Regions from separate parts of the Homo sapiens genome. Here region 2 is linked to region 1. Evidence: promoter capture Hi-C in 16 types of primary human blood cells and fetal thymus (Javierre and others, 2016). All regions are on one chromosome and are shown on one strand. Each heading gives the region's core, a stretch centred on a gene start or on the middle of the fragment in contact. The rest is flanking DNA. Distances are from core to core; before and after follow the strand shown. Region 1 holds the start of DENND3 (DENN domain containing 3). Region 2 holds the start of LOC124902030 (a long non-coding RNA gene).

What was found. The method cuts DNA at HindIII sites, captures the fragments that hold promoters and counts their contacts. A CHiCAGO score of 5 or more calls a contact.
Region 2: a fragment that was not itself captured here is called in contact with the fragment with the promoter of DENND3 in region 1 in 3 of 17 cell types (total B cells, naive B cells and monocytes); the score reaches 7.3 in total B cells.

What each region holds. Positions count from the first base shown.
Region 1 is chr8:141,127,339-141,130,194 of GRCh38, forward strand. DENND3 (DENN domain containing 3) reads left to right here and starts at 1,251. Exons shown (of 23, transcript NM_001352890.3): 1 at 1,251-1,471. The coding sequence starts at 1,370. DENND3-AS1 (DENND3 antisense RNA 1) reads right to left here and starts at 2,803. Exons shown (of 2, transcript NR_183310.1): 1 at 2,686-2,803. RefSeq lists enhancers at 1-678, 1,512-2,342 and a silencer at 797-1,656. The HindIII fragment of the contact is 7,380 bases long and covers 1-2,856 here.
Region 2 is chr8:141,032,058-141,039,732 of GRCh38, forward strand. LOC124902030 (a long non-coding RNA gene) reads right to left here and starts at 5,980. Exons shown (of 2, transcript XR_007061121.1): 1 at 5,648-5,980; 2 at 4,500-4,847. It overlaps LOC105375783 (a long non-coding RNA gene), which reads left to right. Exons shown (of 3, transcript XR_007061120.1): 3 at 557-838. RefSeq lists enhancers at 5,164-5,788, 5,789-6,414, 6,415-7,039. The HindIII fragment of the contact is 210 bases long and covers 4,067-4,276 here.

The sequences.
Region 1 (2,856 bases), core at 1-2,500:
CCTCAGCTCACCGATGAGAGCCACCGATGGTAGGCAGCCTCCAGGCCTGGGGGAGAACCAGCAGATCCTCACCATCTTTAGGTTAATAAGTGAAATAAAACCTGTGAGTCAGGCTGCAGTCACGGCCTCACCCGGCTCAGGGAAGGAGGGAGAAATTCCTCAGGGCTCCCTTTTCTGATGTTGCCTTGCTTTGTACTTACTGTTCCTTTTCCTGTTCAGCTGATGACAGATGTTTGACATTAAGCATTTTAGAGTTTTGTTTTTTAGAAAATAGAATCATAGATTATCAGAAGTGGAAGTCCCTTTGGAATAATTTCCCCTGGGTTACACAGATGGCTATGGCAGGGTCAAGGGAGGGGACGGTCAGCGGGGACTGAGCGCAGGCCCCCTCCAGGCTCTGCAGCAATGACCAGGCAGCAAGCCGGCCTCCCGGGCTTGTGGGCTGTCCTCTTTCTCTGGGGTCAGCCTGAGGCTGGAAGAGGCCCGTGGCCCACCGGGCATCAGGCCAAGCCTGGAGCTGACCAGGGAAGGGCCCTGCCAGGCCTTGGGCCTCTGACCCTCAGTCCTGAAGCCTCCCTCTAGCGGCGCCCACCCTGCTCCTTTTCCTGCTGAATTTTACTCAAGTCCGTACTTGAGTATGGCCGGCCCTAGGTTAACCCCGCAGAGTTATTAACCAGGAGTGGCTCTTTCCACCCCCCCTTCCCGCCGGCCCTTCCTGCTGTCCACACCCGGCCAACTCCACTGTCCTGGCAAGGGAGGGCTTCCTGGAGGCGGCAGCGGGCGGCGCGTCCGGCCTTTGTCCCCCCACGCTCTCCAGGGTAGGTCCAGGGACTGCCAGATCAGGGGACCCTTTGCGTCCTGGAGCCTTGGGGGCTGGATGACGTCGCCGGGCACCTGAGGACCCCGCCCATTCCTCCCTCGGTTCCCCAGGGAGCGGGCGGCCGGCGGGGCTGGGCGGGGCCGAAGGAAGGGGCCGCTTGCTCCGACGCCGCGCACGCGCCAGGGCCCGCAGGCGGGTTAGGAAATGACGACCGCGCGCGGGTCTCCAGCAGCACCCGCCCTAGGACCGGCCCCGCCCCCAAGTCCCGGTCCCTAGGGCCGGGCACGCCACTCCAGGCCCCGCCCAGAACCTCCCCGCCCAGTCAAGCCCCGCCCCCAAACTCTGTCTCCCCGCGGTATCCTCTGGGGCTCTCCAGGCCCCGCCTCGGCTCGGGCCCCGCCCCTCCAGGCCCCGCCTCCAGCCCCGCCCCGCAGACGGCGCTCGCAGCGCCCCCGGCCCCCAGGCGGCGCGGCTGGTCCCCAGGGGTCTGCGGGCGACTGCGCGGCTGAGGCGCCCGAGTGCGGTACTGGCGGCGGGCGGCGGGCAGCCATGGCGGAGGCCGCGTCGCCGCACTTGTCGCTGCCCTCGGGGCTGCTGGAGCTCTGCGCGCTGCTGGGCGCCCCCCGGGACAGTCTCCGAAGTCTCGAGCAGGTGAGGGGCGGGGAAACTGAGGCGGACGTGGGCCACGAGTCGGCAGCCGGGACAGCAGTCGGAGAGCGGGCGCCCGGGTGCCCTGTGGGTTGGCGCGGACTTTCCGAGGGCTGAGTCCCGGTCCCCCGGCGGTGACCCCGCGCGCCTGTGGCCGGGGATCGCGCCCGAGCTCAGGCAGGTGCCCTGGAGCAGCGCCCTGCTCCCCTCCCCTCTTCTCTCCTCTCCCCGCCCGGGGCCCTTGGTGTGAGACATGTCTTTTGAGAGCTGCGAACTTGGTCCGCCGGCCGGGAATCTGGGGGTGCCGCCCCTCGGAGAGTCTCTGGGGCCTCTCTCTTCAGTCGCTCCCATCTTGGGCAGGTGCTTCTGAAGGTGGGGTGCACCAGACAACGGGCGGAAGCCGCCGGAGCCTCACGGTCTAGCGGGCCCAGCCCTCGCTGCTGAAATGATTTCATTCTTTATGCTGGGATGTGTTGTCCCCTGAGTAGTGGGTTTTGCACCAGGCACAGAATAACGAGAGAGCAATCTTAGAGTTAGCCGCCGGCCTCGCGTATTCTGCATGAACCCCTTTGCGATGAAGCCTATAGCTATTTTTCTCCCTTGCGGTACCACCCCCACCCCCAACCCTTCCTCCATCTCTGCACCCTCGCAGCCAAAGTGACAACTTCATCTCCCTTCTGCTGGGAAAGCGGCAGTTTTGGAAATTCTCGTTTTCCTTTTTCTTCCCCAGCTTTTCTTAATTCTGTAACGCTGGCTTTCCCTGGAATCCATCTGTGTCTCTGGTTTCCTCCTGGTCCGCCTGTCTGTGACACCGTGACTGGGTCATGTTACCTAGAGATCCCGGCGTCACTGGCCAGCCGTCTGCACAGGTCCGTTCATCTCTTTGCAGACAACAGCATAGAAAGGCAGAGAGGCTTCTGAGTATTTAAATGACGCTGGGCTATCCAGGGAAAATGAAGACTGCAGGGCAGAGGGTGTCACCAGGAAAGGCAGATGTTCCTGCAAGTAACCAGATGAATGTCTGTGAGTGTCCGGGGAGTTTCCCCTGCTGGGCGTCAGTACCAAGCCAGTTTCGACTTCAGTGAAAAAGCATTCTCCTATGGAAATAGTTTCCTCGTTTCCCTCAACTTTTCCTTCCCTTCAACGCCCTGTCATGTCAGTAGATCCCGTTTGACCTCTGTCTCCTCGCAACGTCATCGATTGATTTGTCTCCCTACCTCGAATTTGCCAGATGGCATCTCCTCCTTTTTCTTCGAATAGGAAGTGACCTAGTTGCCGCTGTGGTCTCCTCAGCCGTTGAACGTCTTTCCTCTGGGGCAGTTACAACATGGGTGTTAGTTGCTTGGTGTGACACATGTCTTTTGAGGGCAGGGCGAATCAACTGGAAT
Region 2 (7,675 bases), core at 2,922-5,421, 92 kb before region 1:
CCTGAACAAATAGCCTTCCAGAAAGAAACTGCCCGTGCAAAGGCCCTGAGGAGGAAATGAACCTGCCAAATGTGAGGGACAGCAGAAGGAAGCTCCACCGCGGTGGAGGGCCATGAGGGAAGCCAGAGGAAAGAATCAAGGAAAGCTCAGAAGTGGAGTTCAGATCACGTGGTGCTCTGTAGGCCAAGAAGGGAGCTCAGATTCTATTTTGAGGGTGACTGGAGGCCACCGAGGCGTTTTGAACAGTGGAATGATGCAATTTATCTTTTCAAAATGTGACCTGGGCTGTTGAATGGGGAGCTGGCTGATGCAGGGGAGGGGCAGGCACAAAGCCAGTAGAAGGCCCTCCATCTGACATCCCCTGCCTCACTGGCCTGTGCTGCTGAGACCCCAGCATGCCTTGCCGTCACCCTTGTCCACATTTGCACGATGCCTCAATCCATCTCTTCTGGTTTAGAGATGACAGAGGCACCCCTTCCTCTTCCCCAGCTGCTATTAACACAGGGTGCGAGAGCCCAGAACGACTCCTTCCCACGCTCCTTTATTCTCTCTGCAGACAGTCTTCCCACCACCTTGTTCCGAGGCTCTGGGTGAGTGTTCCAGAAGCTGACGAGATGCAGGATCGTCTCCCTCACACACACAAATGCCATGGCAACAGCAACTCCGTGACAACAGCAAAGAAAGCCAGACTGGAATTTGCCAACCCAGAGTGTTGACCATCTGTGAGGCCAAACCCTCCAAATGTTGCCCGTTCTAAGTGCTCATCTCAACCAGGCTTTTGTACATAGCAGAGGCGACATTTAAGTGACATAAGAATAAACATTGGGCACATGTGAAATCCCTTTAAAGTGTGCATTTTTCTGCCCCAATGTGACTGAGATGATGACACAATGAAGAAAAAGGGGGGACTAGGTTTGAGTGAGTGGGCATGGTAGATTTCAGTAATAGGAAATTTAGACCGTCCATAGGGGAGGAGCTCTCCATAGAAAAAACGGCCCAGTTAGTTTATATCTATGCTTCCATTTTCAAGTCCAACAATCTTTTAGAAGTTTACCTTCCCCAAGGCAAAACATTGTGTGTATATATATATATATTTTTTTTGCTTTTTTTGAGACAGGGTCTTCCCCTGTCACCCAGGCTGGAGTGCAGTGGTGCAAACATGGCTCACTGCAGCCTCGACCTCCTGGGCTCAAGCCATCCTCCTGCCTCAGCCTCCCTAGTAGCTGGGACTATAGGCGTGCACTATCATGCCCGGCTAATTTTTAATTTTTTGTAGAGACAGGGTTTTGGCATGTTGCCTGGCCTCAAACTCCTGAGCTCAAGCCATCCTCCTGCTTTTGTATCCCAAACTTGTGGGATTATAGGCATGATCCACTACATCCGGCCAAAGATTTGTGAATAGTTCCATCAAAGGCCCCAATAAATTTAACCCTCTGGGTCTTGAGTTTCCATGGGTCTCCTTTTGTTCTTATAATAACAGTGATAACATCTGGTAGGAACTGTGCCAAATCCTTCATATGTATTTTCTCACTTACTCTTTGTAACAAACTTAGGAGGAGGTACGGCGATTACTGTTGGCCCTCCATATCTGCGGGGATTTGTGGGTTGGGTTCTACCAACTGTGGATTGAAAATATTTGGGGGAAAAAAATCCACAATGAAAAATAACAATAAAACAATAAAAATAATACACAATTTCAAAATACAGTATAACAACTATTTCCATAGCATTTTCATTATATTAGGTATTATAAGTAATCTAGAGATGATTTGAAGTGTACGGGAGAATGTGCATAGGTTGTATGCAAGTAATACTCCAATTTATGTAAGCAACTTGAACATCCTTGGATTTTAGTATCTGTGGGGGTCCTGGAATCAATCCCCCCACAGATATCAAAGGATAACTATACCTTTGTTTTAAAGAAAGTTGAGAAAACACGCACCAGCTTGGAGCTTGCTGGAGGCCGGGCAGAGGCAGACTGGCTGGGAAGGATTGTTTTCTTTTTTTTTTTGAGATGGAGTCTTGCTCTGTCACCCAGGCTGGAGTGCAGTGCCATCTTGGCTCACTGCAAGCTCCGCCTCCCGGATTCACGCTATTCTCCTGCCTCAGCCTCCAGAGTAGCTGGGACTACAGGCGCCCGCCACGACGCCCGGCTAATTTTTTTGTATTTTTAGTAGAGATGGGGTTTCACCATGTTAGCCAGGATGGTCTCGATCTCCTGACCTCGTGATCCACCCGCCTCGGCCTCCAAAAGTGCTGGGATTACAGGCGTGAGCCACCACGCCCAGACCAAGGATTGTTTTCTTTTACTTGCTGCCTAAATCCTTGGAAGCTTTGGGTGACCCTGGGAACAAGTGAAAGTAAGGCTTAGGTGGAGGCGGAGGCTGGGGGAGTTGTGGGAAGGCCACCCTCAAGGGCAGGTTGAGGGACTTCGGGGAGGGCCCTTCTTGAAGAGGCCAGGGTGGAAGACAGGAAGAGCTGTTTTGGAAAGCGAGGCTGGTGGATTTGGCTGAGGGTGTGCGGAGCTTGATGGGACAGAGAGGACTGAGCTGGTGGATACACACGGGAGCCAGGTGCTCAGGAGAGGCCAGGCTGGATGGGCACACCCGGGAGCCATCAGTCAGAGACGATGACAGCATTTTTGGCTCGAGTCTACAGGTACTTCTCTGGGGCCTGCGCTGCCCCCTCAGGCCACTTCTGCCCCTGCCCTGTGTCCCCAAGACATGCTCATCTCTGTGCCTGGCAGGGCTGGGCTCCTTCCTGCCTCCCTGCTTGACCAGGAGCCCCTGTAAGCCACCGACCATGCCCAGCTCATCTTAGAGGCCTCAGCTCCTGACCAGGGCCATCCACGTCAGCATGTGTGGATCCCAACTTCCTCCTAAACCCAGGAACTCCTCACCTTTCTGCTCACTCCACGGCATCACAGCAGTAGCAAGTACTCGCAATTCTTCCTCCCTGTCGTGAGTTGAATTGTGTCTTCCCAAAAGATCTGTTGAAGCTCCAGCTCCCAGTAACCGTGAATAGGACCTTATTTGGAAATAGGGTCTTTGTAGATGCAATCGCGTTAGGCTCAATTGGGGGGCCTAAACTTATCTGAGTGTCTTTATAAGAAGAGGTACGAGAGACCCACAGGAACACCACACTGGAGGCAGAGATTGGAGTGGGGCAGCTGAAAGCCAAGGAACGCTGAAGATTGAAACCAGAAGCTGGAAGAGGCAGGAAGGTTCTGCCCTTAGAGCCTGGCCCTGCAACACCTTGATTTCAGGCTTCAGTCTCCAGAACTCTAAAACAATACATTTCTGCTGTTTTCAGCCCGCATGTGTATGGTGCTTTGTTACGGCAGCCACAGGAAACCAGCACACTCCGTGAGGCCCTCTTTCCCATCTCCCCTCCTGCCCTCGCTCCCCACTGCCTGGCTCTGGCCTTCCCTGCTCTTCCCTTTCCATCCAGCAGCCCTGGTGCCACAGGAGGGCTGAGTCACAGGCTGAGTCACAGTGAGTCCCCAAGTGCCCAGTGCTGTCCCACACCTTTGCCCCTGCTGTTCCCCTGCCTGAGCTGCCCTCCCTCTTGTCTGATGGTGACTTCTACGCATCCTTCAAAACTCAGGTCATCTCCGTGGTAGGGCGGTTCTGACCTCCAGATTGAGGCAATCATTCCCTCCACTGTTCTTCCCTTCAGCTCACCTCTTGCCCCCACTCCTCATGGCAGAGCCAGTTTAATTGCTTCTTATTTATGCCCCCTTTCCCCCGCCTCGAAGCATGAGTCTCTTGAGAGCAGGGAGTATGTCCCGTGGCAGAGACTCAATCATGGAGATTGGTTGGCTGTGTAGAGGGCTGGATGAACGACTGCATAAAAAAACTGGTTGGCTGGATGGTCAGACAACAGAAAACCTGAGAAAACATCAACACAATTGGCTCTGCATGCGCGATGTGCTCTTGTGGCCCTGGTGTTAGCAGGGAGGGATCCAGGGTTTGTGGGATCCGATGCTGATACAACTGAGGGGCATCCCCTTCCAGAAAAAACTACAAAAGCAGGTACAGGGCTTTAGAGGGGGCGCAGAAACGTAAGCTTTATCAGCATCCCGGCAAATTCACCTTTGCTGTTCGCTTCGCTGGGCACACCCCCATGTCCCGGCCTTGAGCTCCTGCCGCGCTCACCACTTCCTCCTTGCCTGACCGCGGACCGCAGGCAGCACTTTCGCTGAGATTGCTTCCCCTTGAGGTCTGCAGGTCTCTGGGCCCGGGAGAGCCTCCGCTGTCTCAGGAGCACAGGCTGAAGCTTCATCAGCCTCCAGCCCAGCCAGGGTGAGCGCCACCTTTAGAATATGTTTGCCTTGCCTCCTCCCACATGCTGCCCCCGTGGCTGGCCAAGCTCCATGGGATGGGGGTGCCAAGGAGACCTACGTTTCTGTCACCTGCTTGCAGGCTTGCAGGATCGTGGAAGGGCTATTGTGGTATATTTGTTTTCAAAGCTCTTGTAACAAATGACCACCAACAGGGTGTCTTCAAACAACAGAAATTTATTCTTCCAGTTCTGGAGGCCAAATGTCCAGGTGCCGGCAGGGCCGCTGCCGCCAAAGGCTCTGGGGCAGGATCCTCCCCACTTCTTCCTGCTCCTGGTGGCTCCTGGCAGCTCCTGGCATTCCTTGGCTTGTCCTGCCTCCACCTTCACATGGCTTTCCCTCTCTGTCTTCCCACTTCTTATATGGACGCCGATCATTGGATTTAAGGCTCACCCTAAAGCCAGGATGATGTCAGCTCAAGATCCTTCACTTGCATCTGCAAAGACCTTTTTCCAAATAAGGTCACATTTACAGGAACCAAGGGGTTAGGACTTGAACAGATCTCCTGGGGGACACAATTCAGACTGTTACACATGGGGACAATGATCGGACCCCACCTCACCTGGGAGGACAGCTGGCTGCTCTGCAACTGCAGAGATGGGAGGGCCCTACAAAGAGCCCACCCATCACTCCACAGCTACCCGTGCTCCCTCTTTTTTTTTTTTTTGAGAAAGAGTCTTGCTCTGTTGCCCACCTCGCAGGTTCAAATGATTCTCGTGCCTCAGCCTCCTAAGTGGCTGGGACTACAGGCGTGCACCATCATGCCCAGCTAATTTTTGTATTTTTTTGTAGAGATGGGGCCGTGATGACCAGGCTGGTCTCGAACTCCTGACCTCCCGTGACCCACTCGCCTCAGCCTCCCAAAGTGCTGGGATTCCCGGAGTGAGCCACCGACTACACCCAGTCAGTTGGCAGCAAGACCAAGAGCTCCTGGGGACAGGCGCATCTTCCACCCCAGCTTCACCCCCACCTGTGGAGCCTCCACCGTTTGCCCCTCTGCTTCCAGCCTTCATCTTCCCCTCCCTCCCTCTGACTGGTCCTGAGTAAGTAGTTCTCAGTCTTCCCCCCTTCTCCCCGTTTCCCCTGCACTCCTCTTCCTGGCCTCCCCCTTGGCCTGGCTCCAAGCTCCAAGCAGAGGGTGACAGGGAAGCGGCTGGGAAGGCGCCCTTTCCTGAGGCCCCTCGCAATGGAGATGAGCTCTGGGCCGGGACTTCACCAGGGTCTCCTCCTCTGTCTGTGCACTTGGCAGTCCATCTTTCTGGAAAAGACCCCTCCACACACACACACACCCAGAAACCCACCCACCTGCTGGTTCTGGCATCTCGTCCCATTCCTGGCTTGGTTACCACCTGCCCTAGCCCGTCACTCTAGATCTCAGCCTCTATTTGGGTCCTTCAGGACATTTGTTACTGCCATAGGGACGCCTCTGCCCCCTCCTCGGGTTTCCTTGGAGGCAGGCTGACTCCACGGGTGGGGGCAGAACAGCACTGGTCCCTCCCCGTCACTCCCTGGGGAGAGGGAGTCTGAGGAGTCCGGGAAGCCCAGCCTGCCTGTGGCCCTTGGGATGGCTCCCCGTGGCCAGCTCTCCCCTAGTGGGCACCGCCCCTGTTTGGCCCTGCTCGGCCCCTTCCTGGGATGGTTATGTTTAATTCAGGAGGAAGGAGCAAGAGCCCATCTGGTTATGAGTCAGAACAACTCCAGCAGCTTCACATTTCCAGCACGGAGCTGACACTTCAGCCCTTACCACCTGCTGATTCTGTTTCCTAATTAATTCCAATTGCAGAGGTGAGGGGGTGAGATGAATCAACACCTTCAAATACCCCACACTCGGATTTCATGGTGTTTTGTTTTTATTTGCCTCTGCTGGTTTATTTTTGTTGGTTTTCCCTAGGAAGGCAGTGAAGTACCTGAGGGCAAGCCTGGGTCTGGGTCTTGCAATCCTATCCTCAGTGCCTAGATGCCCAGTGAACACTGAATTCATCATTGTCCCCCTTTTACAGAGAGGGCTGTATGTCACACAGCGGGTACACGGGGAGCCGGGGTTTAAAGGAGTGTTTTCATGACCCTAATCCCCTGGCCGCTGACCTCCAGGCTCAGAGCCTGACTCATGTAGAATATGCCAGGCCCTTAGTGGCCTGTGGGCTGGCTTTGTGCCCAGAACCAGGGACGTGAGTATCCAGAGCTCACTTCCCCGCTGCTCTCCTCCTCCCCAGCCCCTTCTTGGCTTGCTCCCGCAGGAAGCCCTCCCTCAGGTATCATTTCCTACAGAGGAAATCTCCTTTGTCCCTGGAAGTGCAAATCTGGCTGTGAGAGTGGCAGGCCTCTTGGGGGCTATTGTTTGGCACTTCCTTCTTGGCAGTGGGCCTTGGGCTCCTGAACCCCTCTGCTGCCTGGCTGTCCAGGGTCTGAGTGCTCCCAGAGGCCCCCCAGGCTGGAAGAGCCAGTTAGTCAGTTAGATAACTATGACTTGGTTCCTGCCTTCAAGGAGGTAAGAGTGTGATGAAAGACCTCAAGCCAAAACCACCCAGAACCATCCAGAACCAACCAGAATCCCCAACCAAGCCCTTCCCAAACTCATCACCCACAGGGATTGTGAAAAATAATAAAACAATTACAGTTGTTGTTTTAACTGTGGTAAAATATGTGTAACGTAAAATTTACCATCTTCATCATTTTTAGGTGTACATTTCAGTGGCATTAAGTACATTCCTGGTGTTGTACGCACATCGCCACCATCCATTTCCAGAACGATTTCATCTTCCCAAACTGAAACTCCATCCCCACTTTAAACACTAACTCCCCTTCCTTCCTCTCCACAGTCCCTGGCACCCACTGTTCTGCTTTCTGTCTCCAAGAATGTGACTCCTCCAGGCACCTCATGTGAGTGGACTCATACAGCATCTGTCCTTTCCTAGCCGGCTTAATTCAAAAGCATAATGTCCTCAAGGTTCATTCATGTGGTAGCGTGGACAGAATTTTCATACTTTTTAAGGCTGAATCATGTTTTGTTTGATATATTCTACATTTTGTTGATCCATTCATCTGTAGATGGAAACCTGGGTTGCTTCCACCTTTGCGCTATTGTGAATTATGCTGCCATGAACATGGGTGTGCAAATATCTGTGAGAGTCCCTTTTTCAGTTTTGTGGGATATGAACCAAGAAGCGGGGTTGCTGGATCATATGGTAGTTCTATTTTGAGTTTTTGAGGAACCACCGTACTGCTTTCCACAGCAGCCACACCACCTGCCACTCCCTGCAACAGTGCACAAAGATTCGAATTTCTTTCTCTTTTTTGAGACAGGGTCTCGCTCTGTCACCCAGGCTCAAGCGC